Linked DNA regions of Homo sapiens: region 2 is linked to region 1. Evidence: promoter capture Hi-C in 16 types of primary human blood cells and fetal thymus (Javierre and others, 2016). All regions are on one chromosome and are shown on one strand. Each heading gives the region's core, a stretch centred on a gene start or on the middle of the fragment in contact. The rest is flanking DNA. Distances are from core to core; before and after follow the strand shown.

Region 1 (7,775 bases), core at 2,263-4,762:
TTGGGGCCCAGCAGTACTGTCACCCCAGCTGTCCTCTTCCCTGTGGCACTGTTGAAGATGCCAAGATGAGTGAGTGGGAGGAGCAGTGGTGGGGTCTCTTTTTCCCCACTTCCCATCCGGACAGGAGGCCCATGACAACATCTCTGGAGAACCCGATGAGGGTGGAGGGAAGACCAGTGCAGGGTGGGGGCCCCTCCTCGGATTCCCCCGCCCGAGCTTCCGGACTGTTGCCCTCTAGGCCACCACCAGTGCGAGTCCTGCCTCTGAGCAGACCTCTGAGCCGCGGCTCCCGGGGCAGATTAGAAACAGGCAACCGGGCTGGGGCGGGGCCCAGGAGGGAGGGACGCGAAAATTCCGGGGCATAGCGGGCCTGTGCCTCAGACTCCGCCACCCAGCCACGTTAAGGTGACTTGGGGTCACGAGACAAGCTGGTTGACCCCGTTGCAAAGCTCCTCTCATTTAGCAAGCCGAGCGAGCTCCGACGTGAGGCGAGCCGGAGTTTCCTGAAGCTGGAAAACCGTTCTTAACTTCCCTCGCCAGGGGGTCCCCTCGGGGCTTTTTGTGTGTCATAATTGCCTAAAGATATATGGCAGCTTCGATTACTGTAATTACCATCAGAGGCTGTTGAAAGAAGTTAGTCTGGGCTGCAGGGGTGACTGGCCAGGGTCTCGTTACCACCCAGGCGGGGCTCCGGGTGACATCGCTCTGCTCTCCAGCCGCGAGAAGCCGGGCAAGGCGGGGGCTGCAGCTCTGTCTGCTCGACCCAGTCCTGACCCGGCCCGCTGCGCGCCGACCTCCTAGCTGCCCCGGGCCCGAGGGACGCAAGTCTCGGGTTGGCTGCCGCCACCGGTCTGGAAAGGGCCTAAATGCAGCGGCGCCACCGGCGGGGGCCGCTGTCCTGCGGGCCTGAGAAAGCTCAGCAGCCGCGTCCCGACCTGAGCCGGGGCTGGAGGCTTCCAAGGCCTCACTCAGGCTCTTGGCAAGTTAGAACGGCCAAAGTTTCCGCAAGGAGCCCGCTGTGGTTTTTCCCCCAAAGTCCGGAGGGTTGGCCTGCCTCCTAGTCCACAGCGGGGGCGCAGCCGCAGGCGGGCAGAGCTCCCCGCTCACCCCTCCCTCGCCTCTGAGGCCTCACCTTTCAAGGGCCCCAGGGGCTCCACACCCCGAAAAGGACGAAAGAGCCCGGGGCTCCTTACTTCCAGGGGTGTAGGCGAGGGCCTGTCCCGGGGCGAGCGAGCTAGGAGGCCTGCCGAGACCCACGGGCTTCAGTTTTTGCAACGGAGGCTCAGAATGCAACAGAAACGGCCTCCTGAGCCTCCTGGGAAGGACACTCACGCCCGGGAATGCGGGCAACAAAAATCGAGGTCGCTTTACCTCCTGGAGATTCCAACAGCGAGGGCCAGGGTAGGCCCGAGCCTAAAGGGAAACCCAGTCCTGGGCCAGGGTCCGCTCTGCATTCCGGCCGCGGTGAGGGCTCCTTCTCTGCTCCCTCTGCCCCAGCTCGAAACATTTCTCCTTTTCTTTTTGTTCACGTTCATTTTGCTCTAATTTTTTAAAGGTCAGCACCCAAAGCAAAACAAAATGAAAACACAACCTCCTTCTTGGAGGGGGGTAGGAGGGCGGGAATTGCATCCCACTTAAGTGAGACTTCATTACCAGTCCTCAGAAGTATCTCCGATTCTCCCAACTTTCAAAGACTCAGGACAATGAGGGCGAGTGAAAGGGGGAGGGGGAGGGAAGGAACGCACAGAGCGCCAAAAATGCTATCTGCGAAAACAACACAAGCAGCAAGGCAACTTCGGGATATGGGGACTGCGGCGGCAACGGTAGTCCCCAGCCTCAGACCCTGGAGCCCGCAGCCGTGGGCCACTGGATGGCGGGAACTGAAATGCCCCCGGGAGATCTGAGCACCGTGACCGCGCCTGCTCAACGCTGGCTCGGGCCTGCACATTCTTGGGTTCCGCAGGCAGGGTGCAAGCAAATGCCCTCGCACACACACTTAGCCCTGCGCTCGTGAGTCTCGGGGTGGTGAGAGGTCAGCTGCGGCCTGGCGTTCGGAGAGCCGGCAGCTAAGGAAGTTCGAGGAAGGAGAGAAGCGCACGGAGGGAGCAGGCCGCGCACTCCTGCCTCTGCTGGGCTCCGGCTCGAAAAGTCCTTGGGATTAGGGATTTGGTCCTCTCTTTGCTAGAGTGGTTCGCCATACTTTAAATTCCCCAGTTATGACCTACGCGGATTTAGGATTAAGGAAAATGTGACTTTTAAATTGTTTCTGCTTCCCAGTTTGCAGGATTATTTGAAATAGCTAGAAACGGGGTGCAAAGCATTCCATTCAAAATCCGCTTTGCACAGAGTTGCTTTTGCGCGCTGGAGCTCGGAGTTTTGAGCGAGTGTGTTATTGTGCTACCGCCTGGAGCTGCGGCCCAGTTCCCGCCCCCATGGCCCCCCCATCCAGCACCTGGCGGCTAAATGGAGACAACTCATCCGACTGGTGGGCTGCGCGGGTCGTAACCTTCTCACCGCACCAGACAGGGGGGATCAAGCAATCCAGAGGCAACGAAACGGCTCTCCCCTCTCCACGAAATGCTCCAACTCACGGTCTACAGGTCTGGGCCGAACGCACACGCCCGCTGGAATCCCTCTCAGGGGCTCAGATTCGCAGCGCTCCAGGCAGGACCTCCCCCAGCCTCCCCGCTCGCTCGCCCCAGGCTGCGCGCCTAGGCCCCACGGCGGCCCGAGAGGTACCCACTTGTTGATCCGGCTGGCTTGCTCATGCTGGCTGTCCCGGGGCGGAGCGGTTGGTGGGCGCTGCCCGAGTCCCGGCCGGCAGCGCCCGCCTCGCCGCCGGGCGCCGCCGCTCTCCAGCTGCCCTCCAGCCTGCAAGGCTCCTGGGCGGGACAGGTGGGTGTCAGTCGCGCGCTGCGCTGCTCCCTGGGCGCTCAGAATTCGTCCAACAGTGGAAATTTAAGCATCCTTAAGTTTCTTCCCGGCTCTTGCAAAACCGCAGCTGCTGGGAATGCTGCTTGATATGGACACACACATGGACAGACAGATGGAGAGATGGACAGGAAGACTGAGGAAGAAGGAAGAACAGCAAGAGAGGGATGTTGAAAGACAGAGATGGAGACACGAAAATGGCCTTCCTACGGAGCGAAATCCCTCTTTTTCCCCATTCCTGTCACTCAGTCTTCGATCTCTCCCTCTACATAGGCATGCAGAGTGTGGGCAATCTCTGCCGACCGCTGGTCTCCCAAGGAAAGAAGGAAAACACTACCGCAGTCTCAGAGGCAGACGGGCTCCGCGCTGCCGGAACCCAAGCGCAGAGTGGGAAAACTAGATTGCTGGGAAATCTTCCGAGGGAAGAGGCGGCCAGGTCCGGGTTTCCGGGGAGAGCCGCGCACGCAGCGGCGAAGGGTCCCCGAAGTTCATTACCCCGTGACTTTGTGCCTGTCGCTGCGGGCTGGGTCCCCTGTAATATCTCCAGAAGCGCTCTGACAGGCAGCCGCGGGGAGGGGAATAGGGCGTCCCTGGCCCACTTAGCTTTTCCCCCAACTCCTGGCGGGGTCTGACGTCAGCCATGTGCGGGGAGGGGATGGGAAGAGGGAGGGGGTTAAATGCTAATGATATTAATGAACCTCCAAGCGGCTCCCAAAGAAAATGCAGGCGCTGTCGGAGCTTACGAGTTAGAAAGTGTGAATATGGGAGTGTGGCTCTGTGCGTGCGTGATGGTGAGGACGGTGCGGCTCGTAATAAAAATGAATTCGTATATTTCACGGCAAGAAGGAAGGGGAGGGGTGACGGGGCTTTCTCAAAACGCTTTTCCCCCTCTCTCCAGAGTGCCAGATAGATTCGCGGAAGAAATTGGGTGGCTGTGTGCTGGCGTGTGATTGTGCGCGCCGGACATGGCCATGTGAGTTGGTTCATTCTTGGTCCGGTGCCCCTTCTGTTGGGTAAAACTTGGATCTGGCCCGAGGTGAGTAATTTACTCATTTTGCACATATCTACGGAAAGTCAGGGCTGAGGATGGGGTCTTCTGGAGGTTCCGCGTTCCTTCGGCCTTCGCGCAGTGGGTTTGGGCACCAGCCGAGGGGAGGATGCCGCCAGCTTCCCCAAGCAGAGCTGGCCCATCCGACGCTGAGCGAATCTCTTGTCGCCTCCATTATCTGCACCGGGGCGGCTGGAGGGCAGAGCGTTCCCTCCCGCCGCTCGTCCTCGGCGGGCGTTGCGGGCTCCCGCTCTCCGGGCGGAGGAATAGTGAAGAGAGGCCCTCATCCCCTACCCCCTCCCCATTCCGCTTGCCTTCCCGCGATTCCTGAGCTCTCTCGCGCCTTGCTCTGTGCGCGGCGCTGGGAGAGCGCATGCCGAGGGAGCGATGATCCCCGATCTCTAAGAGATTAATTCTATTTAAGCTCTCTCGGCAGCTTGAACTTGTCGAACAAGAGCTTGCCAGTCCCTCCTCAGGGCGTGGACCCGGCCAGAGGTCAGAGGTTACACCTCCCGCCCTCCGCTCGACGTTCGCGGGGAGGGGAGCTGTGGCCGGCGCTCTGCAATTCCGCCAGCCCACCCCCCGGTCCCTCTTTCTCCAGACTCGGTGTCATCCCGGGCTTTCAATCAGAGTTCGCCTGTGCGTGCAAGTGAATGCTGGAGTCCCCCGAGCCCTGGGAGGGCGCAGCAGGTCCTCCGCCTGGGCGTCCCAGGGGGAGCGGGCTGTGCGCTCCAGTGGGCTCCGACAGCACGTGATTGCAACTTTCTGCCCAGCCTTGGCTCGGCCTCGAGCTCGGGGTCTCGCACACCACACACACCAGAGCCTGTGTCCTCCTTAGTGGGGCGCCGCGACCAAGGCTGGGGTCCCGGGGAAAGAGCAAGATGGGGGGATCTTTATCTCTCAGTTTATTCCCTCCTCCTCGGTTTTTCGAATTGGGACGAGATTGGGGGATTGTGGGACGAGGCCATAAGCGCGTAGGGGTTTATTAGGTGACAGGAGGAGAAATCAGCGTTTTTTGACAGCCAACTTGTACAGCCGCTTGTGGAGCTAGCCCGACCGGCGGCGTAGCGCTTTCTCGAACTCGGCGCCCAGAGAGGGGAGGAATTTCGGGCAGGATTTGAGAAACACAATAAGATGCCAGGCTCCGTTTGGAATCCTCAGGTTCTGGTTCACGCCAGAAATCCACTTGCTTCAGCCACCTACCACCACCACCCCCATAACGCGGACGCGATTATGGGGTTCTTTGGTTCAGGACAAAGAACTTCAAGGGTGGAACTAATTTATCTGGGGCGAAGATGAGGGCAGTGTGGGGGGTGATGACTAGACCCAGGCCTGTCTGCAGGGGAAGCATTTAGGGGTCTGTTTCGAGAAGGAGAACTACTAATTGCTTTGCCTGTGCGGGGGCTGGACGATGGCTTTCCTGGGCTCCAAACCACCTCTTCCCCTACTCTCGAACGCTCCTGCCAGGCTGGCTCATTTGTAGGCACCAAAACTTCTGGAAAATACTCCCAAGGCTCATCAAATTGTCTCAAAATCAAAATGGGTATCTTCCCTCTTTTTCCTGTCACCAGTCCCCGATCAAGCATGGTGTCAAGAAGATGCCTACGGAATACACACACACCCCATTCAGCCCTGGCGAAAGGCACAACACTGCGCGCACACACCCGCAGCATATGCATCCTGTGTTCTGTGCGCCCGGCTGTAATTATCGGCGCGCTTTGCATAAATCACAATACAGTTCTGAAATCATCGTGATGACTTTCTGGCATGACTGGTTCAGTGGTAACGGCGGCAACAAGCTCCAGGGTAGGCGGGAGGGGCTGAGGCCCCGTCGCCCACCAGGTCCCAAATAAGCCTGGAGCCTTAGTGCGGGCTGCCTTCTACTCAGGCAAAGCTGCTGCAGGCCACGGGGGACCTCGGATTTAAGGCGTAGAAACTTGGGGCTACCATGGGTACAGCTCAGAGAAGAAAGCCTTTGCAGGACAAAGACTATGGCTCTTCATCTTTCTATCCACAGGCCCCAGCATGCTGCCTGATTCATAGTAGGTGCTGCATAAATGTTGGGCAAATGAAGGGAAGTCACCTGCAGATGCCCTGAGGGGCCACTGGAGGCACAGCCAGGCTAAACGCTGGAAACCACGAGATAGGGATTCAGGGCTGTGCCAACAAGCTGTGTGACCTTAGGCGAGTGGCTAGACCTCTCTGGGTTCCAGATTGTTATTTGTAAAAGGATTCTCACCCTGTTCGGTCTTAACTTTCAAAGATTTTTTCCTGTGAGTCCATTAAAGGAAATGATTGATAAGGGGCAAATGCCATCTGGCTCAGAATTATCTTTTAACAGAGACAAGACCTTAAGTTACAAGGATAAGTTTATTGCTTTGGAAGGTGGTGGGGATAGCCACACCCTCAGAGGTTCTGAAACCCTTCTAAACAGGTTCAGACATAGCCCCTAATTTCCTCTGTAGGCGCTTGTGAGTATGGAGCTCTCAACCAAAACCAAAGCCTAAAACGCAGGGAAGGTTCTTTTATCGAAGGATGTTTACATTTTGGTCCAAGAGATAGGAAATAAGATCATGAGAGGACCATGGATCAAGGGGTATTTCTGCCCATCCATCAATCTACCCACTCATCAAATACTGAGCACCCACTATATGCCAGACCCTGGGGATATAGCAGATTAATGACATGACTCCTTTCTCCATGTAGCAGGGAGCAGACACATAAAAGATGATAAATGTTTTAGATTGGGATGAAACACAGGACACTGGAGATATATACAAGGAGCCCTAAACCAGTGTGCGGTGACATAGGCTGTCCAGAATTGCCCTGGAAAGCTGGCCTTGTGTTAGGAGAATCTACTGATTCTACAGTCCTCTGAGGACTGTATTGTATTATAGCTCATTCCTCTGCTAGTGCCCTGTTAAAGAGAATCCTATTAACTAGGTTGTATGAGAGAGGCAGGGGTACAGAGCACCCCTCAAAGTTTCAGACTATCTGAGGTTGACTGCTAGCCCTGCCATTCACTAGCTTCTCTAAAAACGGTGACATTTTTTCCATTAACACCCCCTCCACACACACACATTCTTCTAAATTAAAATACCGAAGGTGAAAGGACAAGCTTTCCCATCAGCTAGCAGAGCTGATGGAATTGGTGTTAAAGAGACCCCTTCCCCAATCCCCTGTGATCGACCCCTCACAGAGGCCATTCAACCTCTAGAGAGTCACTCCTTTAAAATACCATTCCCCTTACCGATATGCAGAGTTAAGAGATGCTCAGACCAAGGAAATCGCTGGGAAAACCTACCAGCTGAGCTTGGCTGAGTTTTGATGTTTAGTATCCAAAAACATTCTGACACAAGTTTTTGTTTGTTTGTTTGTTTGTTTGTTTATATGAAGGAGGAAGTTGATTTGCATTTGCTTCCACATCATAATTCAACCTATGGCTGTTGTTTGCCCAGTGGATGGTGAGAGAGGAGGTGGGTCATGGAGCAGTGTCTGGCACATAGTAGGTGCTTGCTAAGTGCCAAATGAAAGAAACAGTGTTTGCAGGCTTGCTCTTGATTCTGCTGTGGATCTCTCTACAAGTTGTTTGATTCTTATCCAAATTTACCCCCCAAATAAACAAGAACAATCCAGAAAAGAGACGCTTGTTCTCTAGAATCCAGTGGGTCCTGAGTTGCAGGGTTTTTCTTGACACTTTTGAGCACTGTATTGCCAAAAGTAGTCTGTTACTCCCCACAAGTAGGAAGATGAACGCTGCTAACAACAAGGAGACAATGCTCTGTGTGACCACCCC
Region 2 (7,775 bases), core at 1,458-3,957, 200 kb before region 1:
AGGGTGGCTAACACTAGTTAATCACAAGAATGCTGTATATAACATTATATGGATTTTAATAAGTACATCTGCAAAATCACTCATAATTCTTTTGTAGTACAATGGATGAGGTATGACTATAATTGTTTGAATAACTGGATCCAAAAGGTGTTGATTAGTTAATTGATGTCTTCCTAAGATAAGGCCTCCAGTGGTATGCAACAAGTAACTTAATTTAGTCCTATCTGATTTACACATTTTAATTAAGGAATGGCTAAAGACATAGAAATATGATTATCAAATGTATAAATGTCATAGTAGGGATAGCCAAAAAAAAATTATATTAGAATCATACTTCAAAAATACTTCAAACATACTCCATTTGCAAAACAAAAATAAATAAATAAAAACAAAAAACAAAAATAAAAATAAAAAATACTTCAATAAAAATCAATAAAATGGAACAACATAAGACTAATAAGCTGAAATGTAATAGAAGAAAAAGAAATCCACTACACAAACATAGAATGAGAGAGACCTAGTTTCACAGCAGGCTACATAGTAAGATCTGGGTCTGTTAGCAATTTAAAATTCAATATACACCATCAATGTGGCATAGCTTACTTTAAAAAAAAAGTTCCCACTATGGCATTACTCTTTTCAGACTCACTAATGAATTCCATGTTACTAATTGCAATGGTTAATTCTCAACCTCATTTTCAGCTTGTAGCAGCACTTAACAGAAGTAATCATCAATTCTTTTTGTACTACTTTTCTTTTCCTCACTTGACACTCTCCTGGTTCTCCTCCTACCTCACCAGCTGCTCTTTCCTGCCTCCTTGAGGACTGATAACTTCCAAATGTATATCTCCAGCCCAGACTTTTCCAATGAAGTCCAAACTCTTATATGTATCCCCCTTGTCACCACAGAAACCCCTACCTCCACCTCCCTAACCAAATCTGCTTTTTCTGTAGTCTTCCCCATCTCAGTAAACAGCAACTTTATCCTTCCAATTGCTCAGGCCAAAACCTTTGAGTTACTCTTGATCCCTCTCTCTTTTTTCATACTCTAGCTCCATTCCATCAGTAAATCCTGCTGACTCTGCCTATATAGTACATCCAGAACCTGCCCTCTTCTCACCACTTTACTGCTCCATCACCTCCCCTCCCCTTGGGATTGCTGCAGTAGTCTCCTAAAAGGTCTCCTTACTTCTAACCCTGAAACCCCATACCCACACTCTATTCTCAACACTGCAGCCAGAGAGATCTTTTTAAAACATGCAATCATCCAATGTTCATTCTAAGACTATTTACTGAGAACCATCTATGTGTAAGACACTGTTATAGGTGCTGAGAACACATCTGAGAACAGGAGAGATAAAAATCACTGCCCTCATGAAGCTTTTGTATCCTGGAAGGGAACAGACAATAAACTATAAATATAATAAATAAGTAAATTATATGGTAGGTCCATAGTGCTATGGGTAAAAGAGAGAGCAGGGTAAAGGGAAGCAGCACCAAGAAGAAAGGGATGTGTTGCAGGTTCAAACAGGGAGACAAGTCTAGGCTTCACTGGCAATGTAACTTCTGAGCAAAGACAAAGGAGGTGAGGGCTTAGCCATGCAGATATCTGGAGAAACAGCACTCCAGGCAGAAAGATGTTCCCATTAAGTCTCTCATGAAATATTTGTGGTTTCTTAGACCTTTAACTGAGCACGTGATGGGCTGAAAGATGCAAGATTTTAAAGTTGTTGTTTTTAATCTAAATATTACTTGTATTTTAATTTTTAAGTACTTTCCTAATAAGCCACAAGTGCTTTTTTAGAAATGATAATTTAAGTGAAGTATTAGAAACTATTCATGCAAGCAAGTTTTCGGTCTTTTTCTAAAATTTAATTATGAGTTTCGTCTTTCATTTGGTTGAGTTTCTTTTATGGGCCATAAAAAGCAGTCCAAAAGGCCTGCATTTTTTGCTAAGCACATATGACATATCTAATATTTAGGGAAAAAAAAAAACAAAAAAACAGCAAGTGCACCAAACATGGGAATCAACTGGATTTAGCTTGCTAAGGATACAAAACTTTTCAAATGCAAATACCAACTGATTTTTCAGATTAAGCCAGTTATAAAACTAATAATAAGCAAAGTCATCAGATTTATTAACACAATACATTTAGTTCAAAATTATGGATTTTTAAAAGCTTGTTAGTTTCCACCTAATTGGATGAGACTAGCACAATGTTTGTTTTTACCTTCCGGTGGCCTGTTGGATGTTGCCACAACGACGACCCCGTTTTTGAACAGATTTTCAAAAAGCTGTTTCAGAATCATGGCATCAGCAATGTCAGTGACCTATTGACAACAACACATTTGTTTTATTTTAATTTCACTTCTGCTGTAACAAATTTGCTAGTGGATCATCTTTTTTTTTAAGATGGAAGTAAATTCCAAGAGAAAAATTCTAATTATCATCATGAAGAAAAGAGTAGATAATTAAAAGCATGAAACACTGTATAGCAGTCTTTTAAACTTGACTCTTCTTTTTTGCAAGCCTATCATTTCTACACAAATTACCAAATGGTTCTATGATAACTTCTTTTATAGAACTACAGGTGGAAAGCATAGATAATTGTCCTAAACATTTAGGAAGTCTAATTAATTAGAACTAACATGACCAACACCCTCCTCCTCTTCCCACCCGCTTCCCACACCCCCTCAAAAAAGAGAGATGAAAAAATAATAATAATAAAATACACAGGCTGTTTGAGATTTCTAATACCTTTCTGGCAAAGGTCCCTGGAAAGGTGACTTTAAATGGTCATGGGCCTTTAGAAATAAGGACAAGTAGCCAGTGAGACATAATCAGCTGCTGTTGAAAATAGAATGATATGACATAGATACTATTGTGCAATTGTTGCACAAAACAATTCAACAGATGGCCCATCACAAAAATAAGCAATTTCATTGTTCTTTTTAAGTGCCTTCTATTACTGTCCATGAATAATCAAAAGGCACTGCAGTCACTTCCAGCACAGCCAGCCTCTGCTAACCTTCACAAACACAAATATTCCTTCTACCAAAAAAAAAAAAAACAAAAAAAACCACCTTTCAAGAATGGCTAATATAGTCCCTTAAAAAAATAACTTGTGACAATACAAGAAATGCATAATACAGATGAAACTATTCCATCCAAGTTAGGTTTATTGATCTTTTCTAAAATTATTTTTTAAATTCACAATTACGAAGTAAGCTTAATGATGTAACTTTTTCTAAAGGCTTTTAAAATTCACAAAGACAACAATTAAGAAGGGAAAGAAGTTGACTCCAAAAATAAATGTGTAATGAAGATTGACATCAATCATTGCAACTTCCCCTAAGTATATAATAACATGGACTTTAGATACTCCCAATGTAAAAATGTTTTGATCTTTCTTTGATAGCACATTTCAAATAATCTCAGTACAACTTGCTTTACATATATCCACAAGATATAGTACATTGTTATTTTTAAACCCCATTAGAGGACATAAAAATTGGTGAATTCTTTCAATTAAATCAAAATACTAAAAGTTACAAACCGAATGGTTATAATGCAATTAACAATAACCTGGGTTGCACAGGTCTAAATCACTTTTCTTTTTACAGCTAATATCTTCTTTCCCACCTGAAAACAACAAAACCATGAAATAGAGATGTACTTTTTTTTTTTTTTTTTTTTTGGCTGTCTCAGGTTATAACTAAAAAACTGCTAAAGATTCCTTACATTAAAAAGACTTCAGGAACTTCAAAATGGTGATTAAATGAAAAGGAAAGTGGTGCTGATATTATTTAATTTGGAGTTTAGGATCACTGTCAAATTTGGCTTCCGCAAAAACACTGACAGAGAAAGTCCTTTTCAAATGCTTGAACACCAGTGGCATTTCTGATGAGAGGACAGAACGAGCTTGCACATTTTAATAGCAACTGCACTTTTAAATTACATTGCCAATACACTGACTTTTTAAAAGAACAGTATCAATGAAAGTTTACCCGATTTTAGAGAATAAAAATGGTCATTTGACTGTATGATTAATGTCTTTGAAAAAAATGTAAAATAGCTTTTGTGCCCTAAGGTTTAGAAAACTGAAGGGACATTTAGCTTGTAACATAATGCAAAGGTTTAAACTGAAAGTTGAAGAAAGCAAACAGTAAAGGCTTGTAGTTGAGTTATAATTTGCTGTTTTTATATTTCAGAATGTTTTTGCCCTATCAGAGTAAATTAGCTTGGAGAAGCTATGACTAATTAATAAAGCAGGAGTCACTTGCTGTAGCCGGGTGCCAATGTATACTCTTTTGATCTTGTCCCCGCACTTGTTCGGCCTTGCCGGGGAACGGTAATTTTACAGTATAAGTGAACAGAAGACAATTGGCCACACATTCTTGGAGAGCTGGCTTTTTCAGTACCCAGCATTTCATTACCACCACGAACAAAAGAGAAGGCTACAGATTACCAATAAGGGTAGTCTGCTAATACAGAGAGTGGAGACATTTCATTAGCATTAAAGAGAAAAGATTTTTTTATAACCTAGAGTTGCTTTCCATTATGACTCACTTAAGTAAAAAAGAAAAAAAATCTAATGGTTAATTTACATGTGTGAGTGCTTGAGTCTCAGTCATCCACTGATTGGTACAGTGCCATATAATGAGTGACAAACATAAGCATGCATTATCAGTAATTAGGATTAGCACAAAAATAAGCACCTATTTTTTATTAGCAGTTTTTAATAGCTTTCTTCCTGCTTCATAAAAATGGTTAAACCTATTTTTTAAATGATATTGATAGCTGATAGAGGAGAATTTTGCATGATCTTCTGCTCATCAGAATTCTTTTTTTTTTTTCTGGACCCATATTAGTAAAACATCTATTTAGTGTCCCTCTCAGAAGAGATATGAAGAAATAACATTTTTAAAAATCAGTTTTCCTCACTAATCTGATGTCTTCAGAATCATAAACAGTTTAACATGTAACATAAATATTCCAAGAGGACATAATGAAGATCCTAAGGAAAACTCTGAAGATAAGCTATTATTTATTTCACCAACCAAAACACATGTTAAAAACAAAAAACAAACAAAAAAAAACTATCCAAACACATTTCTCAACCAAGGTAAGAATCGTGTATCTAACACCTCAGGTAAAACTGAAATGCGCCTACTTGAGTGTAGAGGGTGGGAGGAGGGGGAAGAGCAGAAAAAAGAACTATTGGCTACTAGACTTAGTACCTGGGTGACGAAATAATCAGTACAGCAAACTCTTGTGACACATGTTTACCTATATAACAAACCTGCACACACACCCCTGAAACTAAAAGTTAAAAAAAGCTGAAATTCTACACTTAGTAAGGAAGACCAAACTAATGAAGAGCATTCTGCAAGTGTAATCTGAATGCTTACCAAAACATAATCTTTAAAATTCCTTAAATTCAAGAGCACAAAAAAGGAGTATATCCATGTTTTTAAGCAGCAATAATTACCATTCGTCTCCCTAGTAAAATAAATATTATATTAATTAACACTACCTAAAGGCCAATAATAACTAGCTAAAAATCAAGGCTACTAATACGATTCCATTTTAAAAGTGAAGTGGTGATTGTAGATATACTGTCACTAAGAATAAAGTGCCTTAAAAACTCTTTTTTAATAAATCAGCAAGTATTGTACTAGGCTTAATAGGCTTAAGGATAATTTTTAGGTTCCATCACTAAAACATCTACCAAAACCCCACCCAGCTCTAGAATTGTATATTTAAACACATAATACAAGACTTTATATACTAAGGAAAATGTATAGCATAGCTGTTACTGGTAAACAAGAGCATTAGTGCTGGACTTAAACTGTTAGTTACCAGTTGTGTGACCTTGGTCAAGTTACTGAACCTCTCTGACCCTCAATTTCCTCATCAATGCAACGAAAGCAGTAATAATACTTACCTTGCAATATTGTTATGAGACATAAAGTAAACTCTCAAGAAATGAGAGACCATTAACTTTGACTATTACCTATGTATGGTATATATGCTAGTATTAATATAATTCTGTATTATTAATGTATAGCTACATAGAATTTTAGCTGTAGCTAGAATTATATTTAGCATTATACAGTTATTAAGAACACAGGCACATAGAAAAACACTCAATAAACAGTAACTAATATTATAGAACATATATAATAGATGGAATATAAGCATTCTAATAAATAAATGGGCAATACCTCAAATAGTTCATAAAAGATGGATTTAACAAGCATGTAAACAAACATGAAAAAAAATCAACCATATTATTTCCTAAAGGAATACAAATTAAAACAAGACACCATTTTTTATGTATTCAATTAGACAAAAATGTTCAGATAATTCAGAATGATGACAGGAAAAAATGTGGGTTGAAGTTATAATATACCTTGGGTTCTGTAAATGCTGATTTTGCTTGAGAAATGCTATTATATGTAAGGGGAGTGGGACTTAATATGGGAACCACTTCCACAGTTTTCATTTGGTATTAGATTCATTCATTCATTCATTTATTTATTCACTACTTATTCATTCATTCTCAGACACTGTCCTAGAAACCTGAGACATCAATTAATAAAGATTCATGCCTTCAAGTTTACATTCTGGGAATACAGATAAACAATAAACACAATAAATAAGTAAATTACATATAATATGTTAAAAGGTGATATATGATATGGGAAAAAAGGTGGGTAAGGGGCACCAGAAGTGTGGGGGTCAACGGTAAGCTGCAATTTCAAATAGGGTGTTAAGATGGGCCTTGTTAAGGAGGTAATTGAGCAAAGATATGATGAAATGAGGGAGTTCCTCTTAGGAATATGTTAGGGTGTGAGGGAAACCACACAGCAACGGTTGCTGCCTAGGCATTAAAAGTAGAACCCAATGGCTCAAGCCTGTGGCCAGAGATAAGAGCTTAGAGGCATAGCTCTTGCTTACAAGATGGGGCTCCTCACTTTTCCTGCTGCTTCCTTTACTTTAAATGAACCATTCAGGCTTTTGCTCACAAACATAGTTACCCCGTCCTATTCCTACATATATATAAAGTACACACATACACGCATGCTGCTAGTTGCCATACTCTCTCTCTCTGCCTGACTCTTCATTACTGCTTCCTGTGACCAGAGACGAAAGACTGGCCTTCTGACTCATTGCTCCCTCCCTGCCCAGCATCTGTAAATAATCAATCTTTGAACTTATTTTCTATTGTAGTGGTGTATTGATTTGCACCTTCCATCTGAAGAACCAGGGTCTGCGCCAGGCCAGGATTTTTCTGGGATGCCAGGAAGAACACAAGATCAGGCTCCCAGTGCCAGAGCAATGGTCAGACAGGCATAAACTGGACATAGGTCAGAGAAGAGCCACAAAGGCATATGCCAGTATAAACAAGTTTCCTGTGTGAGGGACCCCCTGGTCATGGGTCAGACAACCAGGCATTAGGCCATCCTCCAGGTGAAAGAAGTACCCTGTGAAAGGCATGCTGTAAACACCTATGTCCAGCTCCCTGCATTTCCTGTTAGGGCAGGGTTGCCAGCCGCTCTGGTGCTGGAACCCCAATTTAGCTGGGGGCTCTCAGAACAGAGGGACCACTCTGTGCAGAAAGAATCCCCAGTGCAAAGGCTCTGCTTGTTCATTATACATTGTGTGGATGGTGGGGATCAGAGTGCTGGTGCAGCAACATTTTGGAGTATATTTCAACCTCTTGAGTTTTAGGGAAGGGGGATAAGTAGAGATTTGGACTTGTGATCAT

What was found. Contacts are between HindIII fragments. The CHiCAGO score rates a contact against its expected background, and 5 or more counts as called.
Region 2: a fragment that was not itself captured here is called in contact with the fragment with the promoter of NR2E1 in region 1 in 1 of 17 cell types (megakaryocytes); the score reaches 5.3 in megakaryocytes.

Annotation. Positions count from the first base shown.
Region 1 is chr6:108,161,759-108,169,533 of GRCh38, reverse strand. NR2E1 (nuclear receptor subfamily 2 group E member 1) reads right to left here and starts at 3,512. Exons shown (of 9, transcript NM_003269.5): 1 at 2,744-3,512. The coding sequence starts at 2,768. RefSeq lists enhancers at 1-865, 1,766-2,667, 3,568-4,469, 5,371-6,272. The HindIII fragment of the contact is 9,879 bases long and covers 1-7,099 here.
Region 2 is chr6:108,360,789-108,368,563 of GRCh38, reverse strand. It overlaps AFG1L (AFG1 like ATPase), which reads right to left. Exons shown (of 13, transcript NM_145315.5): 6 at 2,232-2,331. Among named protein-coding and RNA genes, the nearest start is that of AFG1L, 70 kb to the right of the region's middle. RefSeq lists an enhancer at 2,647-3,189. The HindIII fragment of the contact is 1,049 bases long and covers 2,183-3,231 here.